7 separate regions of the Homo sapiens genome follow, and all the other regions are linked to region 1. The links are contacts of gene promoters, found by promoter capture Hi-C in blood cells and fetal thymus (Javierre and others, 2016). All regions are on one chromosome and are shown on one strand. The core of a region is centred on a gene start or on the middle of the fragment in contact, and the rest is flanking DNA. Distances in the headings are between cores, read along the strand shown.

Region 1 (3,009 bases), core at 1-2,500:
GATCTGCCTACCTCGGCCTCCCAAAGTACTGGGATTACAGGCATGAGCCACTGTGCCAGGCCTCCAGACAATTCCAATGCTGTATTTTGTCTGTACCCCAACTAGACCATAAACTCTTTACGGATAAAGAACATGTGCCAAAGCTTTTACCATAATGCCTCATATTGGACTGAAAATACAACTGATGACCTGACTGATGATCACACTGAAAAGAAACCATGAATGCTGGCATGTTTTCAAAGTCAAAGTAGCAGGTGATACCAGTGATAGAGGCCACGCCTGTTTTCAGTATTCACTGAATCCCCGTTGGGCAAGAAAAGTCAGATTTTAACAAAAATTGATGGAGACTGTTCTCGCTAAATATAGCAGTCTACAAGGTTACCAAATCCTGGAATCAAAAGGAAAAATAAGGCTAAAATAGAGTTATGTGAACAAAAATTGGGTTCAGGACAGTGAAATAACAGCTTCCTCAACAAGAAAAAAAGTAGTAGCAGCTAAAAGGCAAAATCAAGTAAAGGATGATTCAACAAGAAAAGCACCAGTATTTATATTCTTTGCACTTTCATTGAAACGTTTCACCGGAGATTGGTAATGATTAGGCCAAGATGACAGAGATGATTCAAGGTTGGGTTTTTCATTTGAAAAGTCTACTAATTTTAGAGTTGTGTTAAACCTAAGTTAAAGTTGGAATAGGGTTTTCCCCGGACCAATATTAAGTGAAGTGGATCACCAAGTGGAGTAGCGGCACGAAGGTGGTTTCTTTAGACTTTTAAGTCCAACTCCTACGGAGCCGTTTGGTATTAGGCATATAATCTAAGCTTTCTGAGCCTCAATTTCCCCATTCACAACAAAAGGGCAATGCAGGCTCTTCTCATAACTTCAAGGGGCGGTGGTCTGATATAGAGTACTATGAAAACAAAAGCAGCACACCAAAGTAACACATTATTATTATGATCACTTATAGAACCATTACCCGCTAGGATGAAACTCCCCACACAAGAGATGAAGCCCGAGAGAAAAGAGTTGAAGGGGAAGGTCCCCACGAGGAGACAGTAACCGAACTGCAGCGCCCCGGTCAGCAGTATATACAGCAGGTACGCGTCCAGCAACTTCAGACGCTGCGGAGTGGAGCTCAAGTACTCTTCTAAGAACCGCGAAATGACAGACACTACCGACGCCGACATAACTGCACGCAAGGTACTCCGGTCCGCGCCCCAAACTCTTGGAGGACCCGTCGACCACACCGGATGTGCTGTTTGCGCATGCGCACCCTCGTGACCTAACTCCGCCCTCCCCGGTGTGCCAATTTGCGCAGGCGCTGAGGCCGGCCAGGGCGCGTAACAACTAATGCGCAGACGCGGACTGCATCAACAGACTCAACTACAACTCAGAAAAGTTAATGCGTCTGCGCAATGGCCCTATCAATGAGCTGGGGACGTGTACTCTTTCTGTTCTGTTTCCGCCCGTCAGCTCGGTGACGCCCACAGTTGCTCTGGCAACAAGACACACTGGGAGGAAGAGGGGAATAAGCTTTACTGGGGACCGCGTAGCTAACCAGAGGTATCCGGCTCTCTCTGGTCCTTCTGAGTCCTGGAAGATTTAACGGTTTGCATCTACTTTGAGGCAATGCCTGGCGTTCCTGGGGTTTGATACCAGCCTGACCCTAATTCTGTTAAGGGCGCTGTCTGCAGATGTCTGTCACAGATCATTGGAACAAGTCAAGTTCATCCGCAGTGAGACCCGGCGCGGCCAATCACTGCACAGGCCCCAGTTTAGACTTAATTACTTGGGGGAGTGAGTGGGTGTGGTGAGGGGCGGGAGGCAGGGAGGAAGCCTGACCTCAGCAGGGTTCTGAACTGGAACTCGGGATCTGGCCCTGCAATGCCAACATTTATTGGGCGCCTCCTTGGGGCCTGACGTTGTACTAACTTGTAGGGACTCTCACGTGAATCAGATATATTTGCAGCCTTAAAAGAGCTGGTGAAGGGAGGGACAGCTGTCGAATGTCGTGCAAAAAGCATATGGTCAAGTTTAGCAGCTCTCTTTCCGCAAGCTGGTATCTTGAACCTGGTGTAATATCCCGGGATGTCAGCGTCGAAAGGCCCGAAAGAGCATGCCTGGTTCAACCCTACTCTCTCCAACTCATTTTGCAGAAGAAACTGAAATGGTTTCAGGTTTTGTATTTTAACAAGTGGGATTATTTTGAGGGTTTTAACTGTTTTTTTTTTTTTTTTTGAGACGGAGCCTTGCTCTGTCGGCCAGGCTGGAGTGCAGTGTCGCGATCTCGGCCCACTGCAACCTCCGCCTCCCTAGTAGCTGGGACTACAGGCACGCGCCACCACGCCCGGCTAATTTTTGTATTTTCAGTAGAGACGGAGTTTCACCATTGTTAGCCAGGCTGGTCCCGAACTCCTGACCTTGTGATCCGCCAGCCTCGGCCTCCCAAAGTGCTGGGATTACAGGCATGAGCCACTGCACCCGGCCTGTTTTAACTTTTTTTAAGAAATTAAGTTCTGGCTTTCGTTGCCCTTTTAATTTCACGTGAATCCGACCTTCTAGACCCAGTTCATCTCACCTTTTAGCTGTAAGTTTTTCCACACATGACCAGGTACTTTATTTTCAGCTTCTTAATATTTTGAACTGTACGTGAGCAAAATTCCTAAAACAGCAGGTGAACAACAGCGTTCCTGCCTTTTCACTTTTTTTTTTTTTTTTTTTTGAGATGAAGTTTTGCTCTTGTCACCCAGGCTGGAGTGCAGTGAATGGTGCGATCTCGGCTCACTGCAACCTCCACCTCCTGGGTTCAAGCCATTCTCCTGCCTCAGCCTCCCGAGTAGCTGGGATTAGAGGCACCTGCCACCACGCCCGGCTAATTTTTGTATTTTTAGTAGAAACGGGGTTTCGCCATGTTGGCCAAGCTGATCTTGAACTCCTGACCTCAGGTGATCTGCCTGCTTCAGCCTCCCAAAGTGCTGGGATTATAGGAGTGAGCCACTGCGCCGGCCCCTT
Region 2 (3,193 bases), core at 8-2,507, 400 kb after region 1:
ATTGCCATAGTGCACTACACTCCACCATGGTCACCCTTATCACAGTTCATTTCATTGCCTACTCCACTGCCTGGCTTCCTGACTAAACTAAAAAAATCTCTGAACAGCATCCAACCTTATCAACAATGTATCCATAGCACAGTACCTGACACCTAGTAAAGCGATCAATGTTTGTTATAAGACTGAATAAATGTAAAGCCATTTTTGCTTTTCAATCCATCCAAAATGCACACCCCTTCCTCAAAATACAGCTTGGCTGACAGGACCAAGAAACAGCTACAAAGCTGTGTATTTTGCTTGGTCACATAGTGAGAGAGAGGCTGCCGGTGAGACACGGGAACTCTTTAAGCCTTAATTTCCTCATCTGTAAGATAGGAATAGTAAAATTTTCCTCATGTAATTCAATAAACAATAGCTATTATATCAGGAACCCAATTCCCCAATAGTGATAGAACTTGTGTTCCCTTGGTCAGAAGACTCAAGCTCATGACTGAAACTGCCCACCAGGTGGCGGTATTAACCTGCACTGGTCATGTTCGGTTTCCACTGCAGAGCAAGACAAGTAGTCACAGGGAAGCAAAAGGTACAACCTGGGCTGCTTCCTCAGAGCTTTGGGTGGAACTGGGCAGGGGCAGAAACAACTCAGAGACAGGGCATATGTCAAGAAGGCCTCATGTTTCTTGGACCCATCCTCCTCATTTTCTCATCCCAGGCTTCTCCGAGATACTGTTTATGCTGAGGAATAAGCATATTCTGGCTTACTGTTCACAGTGGAGGGAGTTTCTCCCCTTCTAGATAAGTTTTTATCCCACCAGTGTTCTGCTTCCCCAGTAGAGACTGTGTTAAGAAAAGAGGCAAATTTGCTTTCTCAGACTGCACAGAGCATCTCATTATTTTGTGAAGCCCCATGGCCACCTATTTCTGAGACATGGGGCATGGCGGAAGCCAGAGTTATTCTTGGCTGTAGATTTTATTCATCCTTTTCCACCTTGATTTCAATGAATGAGTTCAAGTCAGGACAGCAGGTTTTGTGGGGTTGGTCAAAAGATGGGGAGCCAGGTGCATTCTCATCCCCTCCCTCATCTTCCTCTTCTTGGAAATTAGGATTGTAAAGTTCTGGTGGAAGGAGCTGGGCTTCAGCAGAAGGCAGTCTGTCTGAGGGAGGCCCATACACACGGTTGGCTTTGGTGCCATGCTTAGAGTTAGCATCCAGGTGGTAGCAGAGCTCTGTGAGGCGCTGGGCCCGGAAACGGGGAGGGCGGGCCACCCACACACCTGGCTCGTTAAGACTGTCCTCTTCATCTGACATCAGTTCCTCTGTCACATCATTCCACAGACGTTGGTCCTCAGGTCCAAAATGCCTCATGATACTGGATCGGTTGGCAAAAAGCTAAGGCAGGAACCCAGGAGATAGATTAGGAAGGTAAACATTCTATGGATTAGATTTGGGGAAAAGGTTTGGTGGGGAAGGCTGTGTAAAATCTGTGCCTAAGTGAACCCAGTCCCCAAGTCAGATCTTAGCATTGGCTCACTGTTCTTCTCTATCTTCCTACATTCCTGGCTCTCAACCCTATTCTCATATGCCATGTCCTCTGGCCCTTCCCACTTAGGAAAGGGTTTAGAGTTTAGTATCTTGAAAGAAAGGCCTAGAAACCTACCCGATATCGGCGACTTCGAAGTTTCTTCTCCTCTTTTTCCTTCAGGCCTTTAAAGGGGTTCAGGGAGTTGCGGTACTCACGCCTCTTAGTAAGGAAGTAGGCCACACAGGCTCCTGGCGGGGAGGGAAGGAAGGGAGCAAGAAGGAGGGTCCTCTGAGTAGTGGTCCCCAGCCCGTTTTTCTGCCCTAACACTATTGAATGGGAGGTTGGCGATCACTACTTAGATGAGGGCTTTTTTTTTTTTTTTTGAGATGTAGTTTCACTCTTGTTGCCCAGGCTGGAGTGCAATGGCACAATCTCGGCTTACCACAACCTCCGCCTCCTGGGTTCAAGCGATTCTCCTGCCTCAGCCTCCCGAGTAGCTGGGATTACAGGCATGTGCCACCACATCCAGCTCTTTTTAGTAGAGATGGGGTTTCTCCATGTTGGTCAGGCTGGTCTCAAACTACTGACCTCAGGTGATCCACCTGCCTTGGCCTCCCAAAGAGCTGGGATTACAGGCGTGAGCAGCCGTGCCTGGCCTAGATGCTGGGCTTTCTTGGCATAGGCATTAGCATCTTCACTCCTCTTTGGTTAGGATTCTTTTTATTTATTTATTTTATTATGATTTTGTTATGAGACAGGGTCTCGCTCTGTCACCCAGGCTTGAGGGCAGTGGCATGGTCATGCATGCTCACTGCAGCCTCCAACTCCTGGGCTTAAGTGATCGTCCAGCCTCAGCCTCCTGAGCAGCTGGGACTACAGGTGCACATCACCATGGCCGGCTAATTGGTTTAGCTTTCTTTGCCCACCTCCATCTCCAACACTAACTCCTCCCAAATATCTCCCACTGGAAAAAGACAACTCCAATCGCTTCTGTGTCTCCCCGCTCCCTCCACCAAATAAAACCTACCCCTTCTTGGGCGTGGTGGCTCACACCTGTAATCCCAACATTCTGGGAGGCCTCCTGCTGAGGCAGGAGGATTGCTTGAGCCCAGGAGTTTGAGACCAGCCTGGGCAACATAGTGAGACTCAGTCTCTATTTAAAAAAAAATTTAAAAACAACAACAATCTACCCCTATTGCCACTCTGATGGAAGATTACAAGTATTTTTTTATTTTTCGTTGAAACAAGGTTTGCCCACAGTGGAGTTCAGTGACACGATCTTGGCTCAATGCAACCTCCACCTCGCAGGCTCAAGCAATCCTCCCACCTCAGCCTCCCAAGTAGCTGGGACTACGTCATGCATGCCACCCCACCCAGTTAATTTTTGTTATTTTTGTTTGTTTTTGGTAAAGATTGGGTTTCGCCATGTTGCCCATGCTAGTCTCGAACTCCTGGACTGAAATAATCCTCCTGCCCTGGCTTCCCAAAGTGCTAGGATTACAGGGATGAGCCACGTTACCTGGCTCTACAAGTACTTTTTCAGCAGAAGCTTTCATAATACTTCAGGGTTAGCTACAAATAACAAAAGAGAGCAAGGAAAGAGAAAGCCTGGGAAATAATATTTAGGGACCAAGGGGCAGGCCTGGCTTCTGAACATAACACCTCCTCAT
Region 3 (3,020 bases), core at 191-2,690, 370 kb after region 1:
ATATAACTATATATGTGTGAAACCATCACCAAGATCAAGATAGTGAACATATGTATCACACTCTAAAAGTTTACCTGTGCCCGTACGTAATTCTTTTCTCTAGCTTCTCCCTGCCCTACTCAACCATCAACTCTGTTTTCTGTCACTATAGAATAGTTTGGACTTTCTAGAATCTTATGTAAATTGAATCAAATAAAGATGTACTCTCTATGTTGGGGTCTCACTATGTTGCCCAGGCTGGTCTCGAACTCTTGGGCTCCAGTGATCCTCCCACCTTGGTCTCCCAAAGTGCTGGGATTACAGGCATGAGCTACCACGCCCGACCAATTCATTTTTAAGTTAATGTCATTTTATTGCTGATAAATATGAAATCCTATTTAAAACCTTAATTTGGGCCGGGTGCGGTGGCTCACGCCTGTAATCCCAGCACTTTGGGAGGCCGAGGTGGGCGGATCACGAGGTCAGCAGTTCGAGACCAGCCTGACCAACATGGTGAAACTCTGTCTCTACTAAAAATACAAAAATTAGCCGGGAGTGGTGGCAGGTGCCCTGTAATCCCAGCTACTCAGGAGACTGAGGCAAGAGAATCGCTTGGACCTGGGAGGCAGAGGTTGCAGTGAGCCGAGATCGTGCCATTGCACTCCAGCCTGGGCAACAGAGCAAGACTCTGTCTCAAAAAAACAAAAACAAAAAACAAAAACAAAACCTTAATTTGTTTGGGTTTATATTTAAGGAGGTGCTTCTAACAGCCCCAGGGTACCTATCTCCATACTTAATTGTTGGTTCCGAGTTCCAGTGAGGCACTTATTTGTTGAAAAACGAATTTTCGGCCACAACCACACTACAAATACCTTACATCGCTTTGTTTATTCCATGGAATGCTTGGCTTTTATAGGCCTGTCCTTTCATTAGTGTTGTTCATCTCACCTTCTGTTATGCCATATGCAAAATACAATCATTCACTTCTTAAATGCTCTTTAATGATAAAGCCAAGAACATACTCAAGTATTCCTGAGCTAGACTCCTGTAAGGGTGGGAGGTCAGGGTGTAGGAAGATAAATTAGACATAACTCCTGCCCTCAATCCAACTCTACCGTTTCAGACATTGCTGTTGACCTGGTCTTCTAAAAACTATTCATGTATGTTTTTAATTTAGTGATAAATGTAAATGAGAGTCTGAGAAAAAGTCTACATAACCTTTCAGACTTGGACATTCTTTTGCTGCATTGTTTAGAATTGCAGAGAATGGAGATTTGTAAGAACATTGCAGGCACTTTGCCTCCCACACTAAGGCCGGGAAACAAAAATTCCAGAGAGAAATTCCAGGTGAGTATTTAGTACTGTGAGTACTAGTACTGAGTATTTTAGTACTAGTATTTAGTATTTAGTACTGTGAGTACTGTGAGTATTTATGATACCAATAGAAATCTTTGAGTAGAATATGTTCTCACTAAAAATATGGGCTTCAATAACCAGTTGCAAAGCTAAGACATTAAAATAGCATTGGAACTTGGAATCACTGTTGTTGTTTTTTTTTGGAGACAGGGTGTCTCTCTGTCTCGCAGAGGTATGATCACAGCTCACTGCAGCCTTGACCTCCCAGGCTCGGGTGATCCTCCCACCTCAGCCTCCTAAGTAGCTGGAATTCCAGGCACATGCCACCAAGACCAGTTACTTTTTTGTCTTTAGTAGAGACAGTATCTTGCTATGTTTTCCAGGCTGGTCTTGAACTCCTGGGCTCAAGTGATCTACTTGCCTTGGCCTCCTAAAGTGTTGGGATTACGCGTATGAGCCACCGTGACTGGCTGGAATCATATTTAACTGATCAATAATTTAGAAAAACTTGAAAAATAAGCCATATCACTTTGAAAGTATTTGAATACATTCTGATATTATATGGACTGAGAAACTAGTTTCAGAAATAAAAAATTTTACATGCAGTCAAGAGATTTTAGATTTATTTTCAAGATTGTTCACTGGAAAATGAAGGTATTCAGAGCTACAACTATTGATGATTAAGCTAGAAAATTTCATGCCTACTGTAAGCACATAATTTAAGAAGAAAACAAGTGGATAAAAAAATATGTAATCAACCTATGACATCAAATGAAAATTTTAGAACAAATGTTCATAATGTGCCATTTTTTCAATTGCTTAACACCTCCAAGGGGATTTCAAAGCTAGGCCCTTGAGGCTTCAAGGGTTGCCTGTCTGTTCACAGAAATTTCTGTTATACAAACTAGAATGAGCCTGGTTTTACTTTGAGACACTATTGTGAACTAGTATATGAAGTAGGCCTGATAGAAAATTTTAGAGCTCAAAGAAAAGCTAAGAAATTTGGCTCAAAAATGGGACAGATTGAAACCATTTTTAAAGGAATATGAGACTATAAAGGAAACTGATTCAGGAGGGGAAGACCAGTATCATTTTGAAAAGCTAGACATGAAGCACAAGGTGGGCAATTCTTGTTATAATGATTGAGTATGCTGCTATAACTTGAAAGCGTGTGCCAGGGTGATAAAAGTATTTCCCTGGATTTTAATTAATTAATTTAGAGACAGGGTCTCACTGTCACCCAGGCTGAAGTGCAGTGGCACCGGTTTCAGTCACCCAGGCTGCAGTGCATGGGTCACTGCAGCCTCAAACTCCTTAGCTCAAGGGATCCTCCCTTCTCAGCCTCCCAAGTAGCTGGGACTACAGGCATGCACCACCATGCCCCAGTAGTTTTTTAAATTTTTTGTAGAGACAGGGTCTCACTATGTTGCTGGGCTGGTCTCGAACTTCTGGCCTCAAGCCATCTTCTTGAGCCTCAGCCTCCCGAAGTCCTGGCACTACAGACATGAGCCACTGCATCCAGCTTTCCTTGGATTTTTGTTTGTTTGTTTGTTTTTTGAGACAGAGTCTCGCTCTGTCGCCCAGGCTGGAGTGCAGTGGTGCGATTTCGGCTCACTGCAAGCTCCGCCTCCCAGGTTCACACCATTCTCCTGCCTCAGCCTCCTGAGTAGCTGGGACTACAGGCA
Region 4 (3,125 bases), core at 124-2,623, 340 kb after region 1:
CCAGCCTAATAGCTTTAATTTCATTCTATCAGTTAATTTACCAAGTTATTGGGGATGGGAGGGGACCACTCTCCCCACCCAGCTTGGTTAGAAAAATCCAGCAGAGAAGTCAAACAGTCTTACCGCCTCGGAGTTCCTGCGAATCTTCTCCACTTTTGAGTCTGGACGAATCCATGGAGAAAGCTTTCCCACAATTAGCGTATTCCAGTCTGCACTCCCCCACCCAAGAAAGACAAATACTGAATAAGGTTCAGCACTTTACTTGTTCAATTTTTAGTTTTGGGAATCAAGAGTAGAAATGAGAGACAAAGGTTTTTTCTACATAGACATGGGATAGCCTGATGCAGAATAGAGAAGCAAGGAGAAAACAAGTTATCTATATCCCAGGGACTAACAAATATATCCAAGTCAGAAAAGGAGGAGAATGAGGGCCCCGATAAAGCAGAAGTTGTTATTGCCTCTAATAATTAAGGGGCATATGGGATGGTCCCTACCCCTTCCTGACAGCAGTAGGTCTGATCGTGTCTGGGGACCGGGCCGATTCTTAGCAGGTTCCTGAATGAACTCCCTCTTGAAACGCGGATGGAAGACAGGCATGCAGAGGAAATCAAACCTACAACCGCGACAGACCCAGAATCATGTAAAGACAGCAGCAGTGCCAGAGAGCCAAGCAACTGGATTTAGGCTATCTTGATTTTGCACAGCCCTTTCAGCTGCCATCAGTTCAGCCTACTAGGCTGCTGAGTTCAGACCACCTTGGGGGATATCAACTCTGCTGTACTGTGCCTCAATTTCTCCCTAAAACACAGCCATGGGACATATGAGTAAGGAGAAAATGATGGATATCCACAAGTAGAATTTTTTTCTCCTCAGGTGTCAGTATGTTTCCAAGACCATCACATCCAGATTTGCCCCAGTTCTGCCCATGCCTCCCCCGTCAAAATTAGCCTCTTCTCTCCCTTGCCCCCTAACACCTCCTCCCACTCCCAGACAATAATCGCGACCTCCAGGGCCCTTTAGAGTTTACCCAACAACTCTCCCAACTTTGGGACTCAGTGACCACAGGCCTCCCACAAGTTATTTTCCTCACGTTACTGGGTCCGAGGCTCCTCCCCTCCAAAGAGTAATAGTCTCTCCCCTCCTCATCCTAGCCGACCCCCTCACCCCTGCTTCTCCGGGATGACTAGTCTGCCCTTCTCCGTCCCCGAGTTCGGACCCCGCATTCCGCTCGTGGAGGTCCGGCCCTCACCCCTGCTTGGCCACAGCCCCTAGTGTGTCAGCTATTTCGGGGACGCAATTCAGGTCCCTCCCGCTGGACACGCGGCTCCCACCAGCACCCCCGACCGCCATCGCCGCCATCTTTCTCCTCGCGCTGTCCACGCCGGGATTCCTTGATACTAGTAGCCAATCACAAAGTCAAACTAGTGCCCCAGAAGGCGGGACGAGTCGCCTTAACAACCAGAGCGTCTGCCACAGCTCCCGAACAGGAGGGATGGGGAGTGGCTTTTCCTGCCAATCCGCGGGCTGCACAGTGGCGTACGGCATGGATCCACCAATCTCAGGGTCTGGTTCCTGACGAACTTCAATCTCCCAGAATGCTTAGTCTATCTGAAGAACGCCGTTGAGAGACTACACCGCCCATGAAACCCTGCAGTATAACCTTGAAGTACCATCACGGAGAGAAACAGTGCCATCTCAGGGCCAGTGGCGCAATGGATAACGCGTCTGACTACGGATCAGAAGATTCCAGGTTCGACTCCTGGCTGGCTCGGTGGGGTTCCTCGCAGCTTCGCTGCGTGAGCATTTTGTAATTTTCCTTTCCTTTCGCAGCTTGATGCTTCTTTATTATCTTCACGCTTTCATTATCAGATCCTGAGTCGGTTGGGTTATGCAGCCATGTAATGTCAGCTTTTCCCGTAACTACCCTCAAAAGTGTTTTTCTTGTGTCATTATTTACGTCCATATGAACACTGAGAAAACTGGGTTAATGGCTGGTGCTATTAAAATGAGCTTTGTCACCTTACTATGTTACATATTAAAATAAACTGCTAACTCAGCTACTACTTCCTAGTGATTCTAGGAAGTAGTGTTTTGTGTTTCAAACACAAAAGGTGTAAATAAACGCCTAAACACACACACACACCTCAAGATAGAGAAAAGGAATTCATTAATTACAGTGGGCAGCAGTCATGAAATTGGCTGGCATGGAGGCCAGAGAGAATCTACATTTTCTCATGTCATTAGCTGCTAGAGATGGAAAGGAAGGAAGCAAGGAAAGACATAGGGAGGTAAATGGGAACTCCAGAAGGCAGGGGGCCCACTGGTGTTGAGGGCTCGGCAGCAAGGATGGAGAGGAGAACACGGTACAAGAGACCCCACGCAGGCGCCGCTGGCAGAACTTAGGGACCGACTGGCAAGGAGTCCTGAGAAAGCAAAGTAGGGGGTGATGCCTAGGATTCTGTCCATGCAGTGAGCAAGAAATGCGGAAAGAGGGTTTGGGAAATCAGGGTTTGGGTTTGGTCATGCTGAATTGAACGTCTAGGGGGCGCTGTGTAATAGAAAGTTGGATGGAGGTCGCTAGAAGAAAAGAACTGAGGCCATGCGACTGAGATCACCATAGCTCGTTGGGGACAGAGCCATAGGAAATACGAAAAGGGTGTGGGGTAGGATAAGTTCTGGGGAACCCTGGGTGCAATGCAAGTGCCCCAAAAGAATGAAAGCCGGAAAACCGGCCGGGCGCGGTGGCTCACGCCTGTAATCCCAGCACTTTGGAAAGCGGAGGCGGGTGGATCTCCTGAGGTCAGGAGTTCGAGACCAGCCTGGCCAACATGAAAACTCCCCGTCTCTCCTAAACGTGGTAGCAGGCGCCTGTAATCCCAGCTACTCGGCCAGCTACTCGGGAGGCTGAAGCAGGAGAACTGCTTGAACCCGGCAGGCGGAGGTTGCAGTGAGCCAAGATCACGCCACTGCACTCCAGCCTGGGCAACAAGAGCAAAATAATGTCGGGGCAGGGGGAGGAGGAAAGGAAAGTCGGAAAAACCAAAGCATTTAAAAAATGCACCATGAAGGCCAGGCTGGGCACAGTGGCTCACGCCCGTAATCCCAGCACTTTGGGAGGGCGAGGC
Region 5 (3,153 bases), core at 436-2,935, 270 kb after region 1:
ATTAGATAGTGCTAAGTGCTAAGGAGAAAAATTAATTGAGGAAGGGAGATAGACATTGTTGGGGGTGTAATTTTATACACTGGGGTCAGAGAAGGCCCCACCAAGAACCTGAGGATATGAGGGAACAAACCAAGTGGTTCTCAGGAAGAAGAGCATTCCAAGCAAAAGCAGAAGTAAATGCCAAGACTGAGGTGAGTACATGGCTCCCATATTCATGTCTTAGTGAACAAGGTAGTGTGGCTGGAACAGAATGATCAAGGAAGACAGCAATAGAAGAGGAGATCAGACAGGTCATGGGGTGACATCCCATAAAACCCTGTAAGTCATTGTAAAGACTTTGGCTCATACTCTAACTGAAAGGAAGGAAGACTGCAGTGGCGTAAAGGAAGGACGTGGTATTTTAGTACAGTGTAAATACTCATTATTATTATATATTATTATAAATACTCATTATTATTATATATTAAATAAATATTTTTTTATTTATTTTTCTTTTGAGATAGAGTCTTGCTCTGTCACCCAGGCTGGGAGTGCAGTGGCGTGATCTCCACTCACTGCAATCTCCGACTCCCGGGTTCAAACAATTCTGCCTCAGCCTCTAGAGTAGCTGGAACTACAGGCACATGCCACCACACCAGGCTAATTTTTGACCATGTTGGCCAGGCTAGTCTTGAACTCCTGACCTCAGGTGATCCACCTGCCTCAGCCTCCCAAAGTGCTGGGATAACAGGTGTGAGCCACCCTGCCTGGCCAGTGACTTGTTTCTAATGGAGTCTGGCAGCAGTGACAGTGTGTGACTTCCAAGAATAATAAGCAATAAAAGACATTATAAAAATCTAAAATCTAAAATCAAAAATATGTTTTGCTGTCTTTTGGATCACTCATTTTGAAGAAAGCTAGCTGCCATGCTGCAGGACACTCAAGAAGTCTTATAGAGAGGTCCACAGGTAAGGAACTGAGGCCTCCTGCCAACAGCCAGCATGAACTTGCCAGGCATATGAGTGAGCCATCTTGGAGGCAGATCCTCCAGCCACGGTCAAACCTTCAGATGATTACTGTCCTGGCCAACATTTGGACTGCAACCTAATGAGAGATCCTAAGCCAGGTTCATCTAGGTAAGTCACTTTCAAATTCCTGGCCAATATAAAATGATTACAACAATAAATGTTTATTTTATATTTTAAGCTGTGAAATTTTGGGATGATTTCTCATTCAGCAATAGATAACTAATAGGTTTGGGTACTAAAAGTGGAGTGCTGCTGTGACAAACAACTAAAATGTAAGAATGACTTTGAAATTCGGCAAAGGGCAGAAGCTGGAAAGACTTTGAGAAGAGTGTTAGTGAAAGTCTAAAATGCCTGGACGCGACAGTTAGTAGAACCACAGTGGCCTCTTTTTTTTTTTTTTTAAAGACAGGGTCTTGCTATGTTGCCCAGGCTGATTTCAAATTCCTGGCCTCAACTGATCCTAAGTCACTGAGATTATAGGCACAAGCCACCATACCCAGACATGATGGTCTTTGAAGAGGCGGCCAGTGAAGACTTAAGGAAAGTGAGGAAAATGTGTTTTAAAACTGGAAGAGGCCGGGCGCGGTGGCTCACGCCTCTAATCCCAGCACTTTGGGAGGCCGAAGCAGGCGGATCACGAGGTCAGGAGATTGAGACCATCCTGGCTAACACAGTGAAACCCCATCTCTACTAAAAATACAAAAAATTAGCCAGGTCTGGTGGTGGGCACCTGTAGTCCCAGTTACTCGGGAGGCTGAGGCAGGAGAATGGCATGAACCCGGGAGGCGGAGCTTGCAGTGAGCTGAGATCGTGCCACTGCACTCCAGCCTGGGCAACAGAGCAAGACTCCATCTCAAAAAAAAAAAAAAAAAAGAAAGAAAAAAAGAAACTGGAAGAAAAAGGATTCTCGTTATTCAGCAAGTTTAGCAACTATAGTTAGTGTGTAGTAACATGGAAAGTAAAAAATGTAATTAATGAATGGGAAATCTAGCTAAGGAGATTTTCAGGGAGAATGTTGAAGTTAACACCTGGTTTCTTCTTTGCTGCTTATAGTAAAGTGCGAGATAGATAGCTAAGAAAAAAAAATACCACTTAAAAAGAGCCAGGAGGCCGGGCATGGTGGCTCACGCTTGTAATCCAGGCACTTTGGGAGGCCAAGGCGAGCAGATCACAAGGTCAAGAGATCAAGACCATCCTAGCCAACATGGTAAAACCCCGTTTCTACTAAAAATACAAAAATTAGCTGGGCATGGTGGCGCTCACCTGTAGTCCCAACTCTCGGGAGGCTGAGGCGGGAGAATCACTTGAACCCAGGAGGCGGAGGTTGTAGTGAGCCGAGATCTCGCCATCGCACTCCAGCCTGGCGACAGAGCAAGACTCCGTCTCAAAAGAAAAACAAAAAGAGAGCCAGGAATTTTTGGATTTTAAAATTCTCAGCCTCTCCAGACAGTAAATGATGTTAAATTTTTTAAATAGCTTCTGGGCAAGTATCAAATTCAGGGCACTCTCAGGAAAACATGGTATAAAGACAAAGCCAAGATTGAGTGTAACATGCTTTGTTAATATCAGAAGGATCTAAGGTGGTACTCAGGAAACCATTTAGTCTAACAATATGGTTTTTGGGGTTTTTGGTTTTTGGTTTTGGTTTTGGTTTTTTTTGAGACAGAGTCTCACTCTGTCACCCAGGCTGGAGTGCAGTGGCATGATCTTAGCTCACTGCAACCTCCGCCTCCTGGGTCCAAACAATTCTCCTGCCTCGGCCTCCCGAGTAGCTGGGACTACAGGAACGTACCACCATGTCTGGCTAATTTTTGTATTTTTAGTACAGACAGGGTTTCACCATGTTGGCCAGGCTGTTTCAAACTCCTGACCTCATGTGATCTACCCACCTCGGCCTCCCAAAGTGCTGGGATTACAGGTATGAGCCACAGCACCCAGCCTAACGATATAGTTTTTAAGAATCTTAAGAGCCAGGCATGGTGGGTCACACCTGTAATCCCAGAACTCTAGAAGGTCGAGGTGGGAGGATTGCTTAAGGCCAGGAGTTCAAGACCAGCCTGGACAACATAGCATGGTCCCATCCTACAAAAAAATTTTTAAAATTAGTGGGCATGGGCCTGGTGCGGTGGCTCCCAGCACTTTGGGA
Region 6 (2,858 bases), core at 316-2,815, 430 kb after region 1:
TGAGTTGGGTCAAATAAGCCCAAGAAGCTGACGTGGGTAGAATTTCTTCTGCTTGACCCACTAACAACTGCAAAGGGGACATTTTAGAAATGTTTTTTATTGAAATGCTTCAGTGGGGGCAGAGCTCCTGGAAACCAGAACTTGGCTCTGAAGCCACGCCTGGGGAGCACGGGAGGCTGACTTGGGGGGAAAAAGAGGGGTGGCCCAGGTCAGGTAGAAGGTGGCAGCAGCTGCTGATCAGGGCAGTTCTGATTGCTGTTTGAGCTCCCTCTTGCCCACTATAATTAAAGCATTCCCAGTATGATTCTGGCTTCCTGAAGGGAAACTAGAATTTATAAAAACAAACAAGAAACAAACGCAAAACAGCAGAGGTGCTTGGTTGCAATATATGTATATTTTAAATTATAGAGCACTGCTCTATACTCCATACAGTTTCAAAGTCCGTATCTGTTATAGCCCTGGGAGCAGGTCAGGGGAAGATCTAACAAAAGAAACAAAAATAAAAGAAAATTAAAAACCTAAATGTATCCACCGAAAATTAGATATGGTCATGTAGATTCTCTCCTAACCCAATCATCCTATCCTTGTTACTCCTGACACAAGGGAAATGCTCCCCTCAAAATTTCCATCCACCTTTTTTTTTCTACTTTATTCTCTTTTCATCCCACCTCTTTCTTCCTTCCCCTAACAGACCACATAGAATCCGTGGGCCAGAATAAATCAGTTATTTTATTTCCCCTCGGAGGATGTGACCTTCCACTCCCCAAATGGCTCTGACAGTTTTCTCATTTGCTAGCTGAGGAGGATATCAAGAGACACTGACCTTCTGGTTTTGCCTAAAGAGGAACACTCAGTAACTATTATCCTTCAGTCTTTGATTTGCGTTAACTGTGCCCTTCCTCCCTCCTCCCCCACATCCTCACCTACCTTTTCACCTTCCTTCATGAACATTCTACTCACCCCACAGTGCACTGCTACTCCCCACAGCCCTCCCTTGCCTGGTGTGCAGATGCTGGAAGGCTAGCAAGAGAAAGCAAGGGGCCTCCAGGAGTATTTGCTCCCTATTTAATCAGATTAGTCCCATCACCTACCCCGAGGAGCCAGATTTTGGTGTTACTGAGTTATCTGTTGAGGGAAGAGAAGTTGTCAGACATCACTTAAAGAGCCCAGTCCCTTGGACGCCTGGGAACTGCTGAGAGAAATTAATCTTCCAGCTATTTAAGGCGATTTCTTTTCCATCATCCTTTGTCAAGAGGACTGTACTGGGAAATGAATCTGATGGGAGTCCCTGAACTGGTACACTCCACTCAAAAACATCTCTCCAATCCTATGCGGCATCCATCATTCCCACACAAGCGGAGACACACATCGCTGCAAAGCCAATTTCCCCCCAGTAACCATCAGCAAGAAATCACAAATGCACAGGGTGGATACCACTAGCCTACAGACTTGCAGTTTTTCCCTACCTCTGCTCTACTTTCTTCCCAGAAAAACCTACCACAAATCGAGCTCTTCCATTAAATGAGTCTTTTACCCAAGACCCAGGAAGGTAGATCAACAGGGATATGCCAGAACAGAACATGCATTTTCTCTTCTAACATAAGGACTCTGCCAGTGCAGAATAGGTGTTTCCGTTAAACAGCTAAACCACTGCCAAAGCAAAGTGTGAGACAGAAACAGGGCAAAGGGTTGCATTGTTTCACGATCATCTCTTCTCTCCAGAATGAATTTTCTGTTCATGGACCAAAGCTGGGGTCTTATGCTCTCTGGGGTCATGTAAGGAAATTCCAATCTTCAATTCTCTTTCTATCCTTAAGGCTATTTCCCAGGGAAGAGGTGTTCAAATTGTGTTCCTTGAGGTTCCAAGAAGTGCCAGGGACTGTGTATGTGTATGGGGCTAACAAAGGGTGCTGCGGGGAGTGGCTGGATGGGGAAGCTCAATAGTGGAGGCTCTGGACCTCTCAGCTCAATTTCAACCTCTGATTTTTTTTTCAGGCATTGGGATTTCTCCTAAGAGTGCTTTTTTTTTTTTCTTTTTTTTTTTTAAGATCTGCAAACCAATGTCCTAAGTGGGAGGAAGATGACCTACCTGTGCTTCTCACGCAGCTAACCATTTCCCAACAGTCTACGAGAAGGAAGATGTAGCTTGGGTCCTGCCTATTTCTTTCTTTCTTTTTTTTTTTAGATGGAGTTTTGCTTTTGTTGCCCAGGCTGGAGTGCAATGGCACCATCTCGGCTCACTGCAACCTCTGCCTCAGCCTCCCAAGTAGCTGGGATTACAGGTGCCTGCCACCACACCCAGCTAATTTTTCGTATTTTTAGTAGAGACAGGTTTCACCATGTTGGCCAGACTGGTCTCAAACTCCTGGCATCAAGTGATCTGCCTGCCTCCGTCTCCCAAAGTGCTGGTGCTGGGATTACAAGCCTGAGCCACTGTGCCCCGCCCAGCTCCTGCCTATTTCAACCATGTAGTCTGAGTCCACACCAGCAGCTCCCTGACTGCAGGGGCTCCTGAGATACTTTCCTGCAAAAAATTTCCTTAGGCACGAGTCATTTGTTTTCCAAACCCCCTTCTCCGATTTCACTAATTCCCAATTTCCCTGCATTTGACAAATGCAATTAACAAGCCTCGATCAGTTCCTGGCCGACAGCCCTCATCAATCAATACGAAGACTGCACAAGGCTGAGGGGGAAGGGAAGGTAGCTGCAGTACAGGAGAGGAGGGTTTACCCCCTCTTCTTCTGTGAATGACTTCTCCAAACCTCTCAGTCTCAAAACATGACACTGGGTTGTCACCTTCACCAACCACTTTCTGCCTTCTGACTAAATACAAGGTGGTATTGTTTGTGTCCTCCGCT
Region 7 (2,918 bases), core at 268-2,767, 320 kb after region 1:
GACAAAATTAGCCAGGGGTGGTGGCACATGCCTGTAATCCCAGCTACTTGGGAGGCAGGAGAATCGCCTGAACCCGGAGGCAGAGGTTGTGGTGAGCTGAGAACGCGCCACTGCACTCCAGCCTGGGCAATGAGTGAAACTTCATCTCAAAAAAAAAAAAAAAAAAAAAAAAAGAAAGGAAAAAAGAAAGCGGTGGGGGGGAAAGGAAGGGAGAAGGAGGGAGGGATGGGAGGAGAGGGCAGAGGGAGGGAAAAGCAAGCAAGCAAGCAAGCAAATTGCTGTTAAGTGGGCCAGGTGCAGTGGCTCACTCCTGTAATCCCAGCACTTTGGGAGGCCAAGGCAGATCGCTTGAGCCTGGGAGCTCGAGACCAGCCCAGGCAACATAGCAAGACCCTGTCTCTATAAAAAATATATTAAAAAAGAAACTGGGACGGGCGCAGTGGCTCACGCCTGTAATCCCATTACTTTGGAAGGCCAAGGTGGGTGGATCATAAGGTCAGGAGATCAAGACCATCCTGGCCAACATGGTGAAACCCCGTCTCTACTAAAAATACAAAAATTAGCTGGGCATGGTGGTGCTTGCCTATAATCCTAGCTACTTGGGACGCTGAGGCATGAGAATGGCTTGAACCCAGGAGGCGGAGGTTGCAGTGAGCCAAGATTGTGCCACTGCACTCCAGCCTGGCAACAGAGCGAGACTCTGTCTCAAAAGAAAAAAAAAAGAAATTGGTGCTAGGTCTGAGGTACAGTGACTTTCTACTGTGTCACTTCGAGTTTTGAGCAAAGCACAGATTACCAACACCACATTATGTGCCCACTCCGGTTTCTGAGGTTGTCTCTAAAAGTATGGCTCTTAACCATAGTCTCCAGCAAAGCTTACTAAGACTATGCCTTTTATGATTAGTTATTCTACATAATAAATAAGCAGGGAAAGAGGATTCATAAAATGTTGAAAGTTGAAAGTGATGATCGACAACTACTCTTTCTCATTAACCCAATTCCAGGAGTGAGGTGGAAAATATTACCTCTTCTTTTTTATAGGGAGCTTCCAGCATGGCCTCAATCACTATGTCAAAGTCATCAGATGCCATCCTGTCAGATCTGGGGAGAGGATATTAATATGTAAGAATCTGTTTTATATTTTTCCTCCCTTTCCAGCACCACACATTTCTTTCCCACTCCAAGAAAGAGACTTCAGGATATACAGATTTCAGTTCTGTTTCTTGAACTGCAAAGAAACCTTACCAGCTGTCACTTACTCTAGGTTTATTTTTACACCCTATAGATCTGAACTAGTTCGACTTTGTGGCTTGGAACAGTCAAGGATAGTCCGGGCGCAGTGGCTCACACCTGTAATCCTAGCACTCTGGGAGGGCAAGGCAGGCAGATCACCTGAGGTCAGGAGTTTGAGACCAGCCTGGCCAACATGGCGAAACCCCCTCTACCAAAAATATAAAAATTAGCTGGGTGTGGTGGCACACACCTGTAATCCCAGCTACTCAGGAGGCTGAGGCAGGAGAATCACTTGAACCCAAAAGGTGGAGGTTGCAGTGAGCCAAGATCACGCCACTGTACTCCAGCCTGGGCAGCAATGTGTGACCCTGTCTCAAAAACAAAACAAACAAACAAAAAACACAAAAAACAATACATAAAAAAATAGTCAAGGATATAGAAGAAAACTGAGTATCTAGGAAGAAACAAAATACAACACTGATCCTGTTCTATGAAGAGAAAATGATGGTGGCCAAACTACTGTTCACTATAAAATAGACATTAGGTCTCCACTCTACTGTTCAAAATTCTGAATAAATACCTGGTTTAAACTCAAATAATAAAAACAGGCCTGGCTGCTACAGATGTGAGAAAAATATAAAACGAAAAAATAATAAACAAATATAGGCACATTATGTCCAATAAAAAGATAAAGAGGCACGACTAAAAATCAGAAGCAAGTCAAAGCAACACCAAAATGCAGATTTGCCCTAACGTCTTCCTCTCCGCATACCCTGAACACCAATAATTAGGGCCTTATCCCTGAGCATTTTCTAACCAATACCAACTACAGTTTAGGTAACTCAGAAATATGATGATTAAGACAGGCTCGACTAATCCCATCTTGAAACCTTTCTCTCTGGCAGGCAAGGTAAAACGTGCCTCCCCAAGCTTTCACATCTAGAAACTGCCTCTCCCCAGGCTGTCTACCACCAGTTTGTCAAATAAGAAAAACAGAAAATACCAAAGAAAACCAATAGGATAAATTATTCAAATGTTATTGGTCTGGAATTATCAACCCACACATGGATGAATCTCAAAATAATTACACGGAGTGACAGAAACCAGCCCCCCCCACAAAAAGTACACAATGAACAATTCCATTTACATAAAATTCTAAAAAATGCAAACTAGGCCAGGCGCGGTGGCTCATGCCTGTAATCCCAGCACTTTGGGAGGCCGAGGCGGGCAGATCACGAGGTCAACGACGAGGTCAACATATCGAGACCATCTAGGCCAACATGGTGAAACCCCGTCTCTACTAAAAATACAAAAATTAGCTGGACGTGGTGGCACGCGCCTGTAGGCCCAGCTACTCGGGAGGCTGAGGCAGGAGTATCACTTGAACCCAGGAGGCGGAGGTTGCAGTTAGCCAAGATTGTGCCACTGCACTCCAACCTGGAGACAGAGTGAGATTCAGTCTCAAAAAAAAAAAAAAAAAAAAAAAAAAAGCAAACTAATCACTATATCAAAGAAAGCAGAAAGCACATCAATGGTTGCCTAGGGATAGAAGTAAGGGGAAGGGCTGGGAGAAAAAGATTTTAAAAGGGCACAAGAAGGCCGGGCGCGGTGGCTCATGCTTGTAATCCCAGCACTTTGGGAGGCCGAGGCGGGCGGATCACGAGGTCAGGAGATCGAGACCATCC

Evidence for each region. Contacts are between HindIII fragments. The CHiCAGO score rates a contact against its expected background, and 5 or more counts as called.
Region 2: a fragment that was not itself captured here is called in contact with the fragment with the promoter of DAD1 in region 1 in 9 of 17 cell types (total B cells, naive B cells, naive CD8 T cells and 6 more); the score reaches 11.3 in total B cells.
Region 3: a fragment that was not itself captured here is called in contact with the fragment with the promoter of DAD1 in region 1 in 2 of 17 cell types (total B cells and naive B cells); the score reaches 7.0 in total B cells.
Region 4: a contact is called between the fragment with the promoter of PRMT5 here and the fragment with the promoter of DAD1 in region 1, in 3 of 17 cell types (naive B cells, total B cells and naive CD4 T cells). The highest score is 10.4, in naive B cells.
Region 5: a fragment that was not itself captured here is called in contact with the fragment with the promoter of DAD1 in region 1 in 17 of 17 cell types (total B cells, naive B cells, erythroblasts and 14 more); the score reaches 24.1 in total B cells.
Region 6: a contact is called between a fragment that was not itself captured here and the fragment with the promoter of DAD1 in region 1, in 2 of 17 cell types (naive CD4 T cells and total B cells). The highest score is 5.5, in naive CD4 T cells.
Region 7: a contact is called between a fragment that was not itself captured here and the fragment with the promoter of DAD1 in region 1, in 17 of 17 cell types (naive B cells, total B cells, erythroblasts and 14 more). The highest score is 22.9, in naive B cells.

The regions. Positions count from the first base shown.
Region 1 is chr14:22,587,974-22,590,982 of GRCh38, forward strand. It overlaps DAD1 (defender against cell death 1), which reads right to left and starts at 1,251. Exons shown (of 3, transcript NM_001344.4): 1 at 974-1,251. The coding sequence starts at 1,184. RefSeq lists enhancers at 248-889, 890-1,531. The HindIII fragment of the contact is 712 bases long and covers 817-1,528 here.
Region 2 is chr14:22,986,245-22,989,437 of GRCh38, forward strand. It overlaps C14orf93 (chromosome 14 open reading frame 93), which reads right to left. Exons shown (of 7, transcript NM_021944.4): 6 at 1,659-1,771; 7 at 1-1,390. The coding sequence ends at 971. All of the region lies in intron 1 of AJUBA-DT (AJUBA divergent transcript), which reads left to right. Among named protein-coding and RNA genes, the nearest start is that of AJUBA-DT, 3.5 kb to the left of the region's middle. RefSeq lists a silencer at 487-596. The HindIII fragment of the contact is 3,625 bases long and covers 1-3,070 here.
Region 3 is chr14:22,960,876-22,963,895 of GRCh38, forward strand. No RefSeq gene overlaps it. Among named protein-coding and RNA genes, the nearest start is that of HAUS4, 5.3 kb to the left of the region's middle. The HindIII fragment of the contact is 5,455 bases long and covers 1-3,020 here.
Region 4 is chr14:22,928,003-22,931,127 of GRCh38, forward strand. It overlaps PRMT5 (protein arginine methyltransferase 5), which reads right to left and starts at 1,374. Exons shown (of 17, transcript NM_006109.5): 1 at 1,250-1,374; 2 at 495-613; 3 at 124-209. The coding sequence starts at 1,359. It overlaps PRMT5-DT (PRMT5 divergent transcript), which reads left to right and starts at 1,607. Exons shown (of 3, transcript NR_110002.1): 1 at 1,607-1,750. TRR-ACG1-3 (tRNA-Arg (anticodon ACG) 1-3) reads left to right here and starts at 1,699; the gene lies at 1,699-1,771. RefSeq lists an enhancer at 1,218-1,327 and a silencer at 1,738-1,827. The HindIII fragment of the contact is 19,261 bases long and covers 182-3,125 here.
Region 5 is chr14:22,856,174-22,859,326 of GRCh38, forward strand. No RefSeq gene overlaps it. Among named protein-coding and RNA genes, the nearest start is that of LRP10, 14 kb to the right of the region's middle. The HindIII fragment of the contact is 4,412 bases long and covers 1-3,153 here.
Region 6 is chr14:23,022,264-23,025,121 of GRCh38, forward strand. No RefSeq gene overlaps it. Among named protein-coding and RNA genes, the nearest start is that of PSMB5, 11 kb to the right of the region's middle. RefSeq lists an enhancer at 2,854-2,858. The HindIII fragment of the contact is 3,160 bases long and covers 1-2,858 here.
Region 7 is chr14:22,910,303-22,913,220 of GRCh38, forward strand. It overlaps RBM23 (RNA binding motif protein 23), which reads right to left. Exons shown (of 14, transcript NM_001077351.2): 2 at 1,026-1,101. The coding sequence starts at 1,091. Among named protein-coding and RNA genes, the nearest start is that of RBM23, 7.4 kb to the right of the region's middle. The HindIII fragment of the contact is 1,288 bases long and covers 874-2,161 here.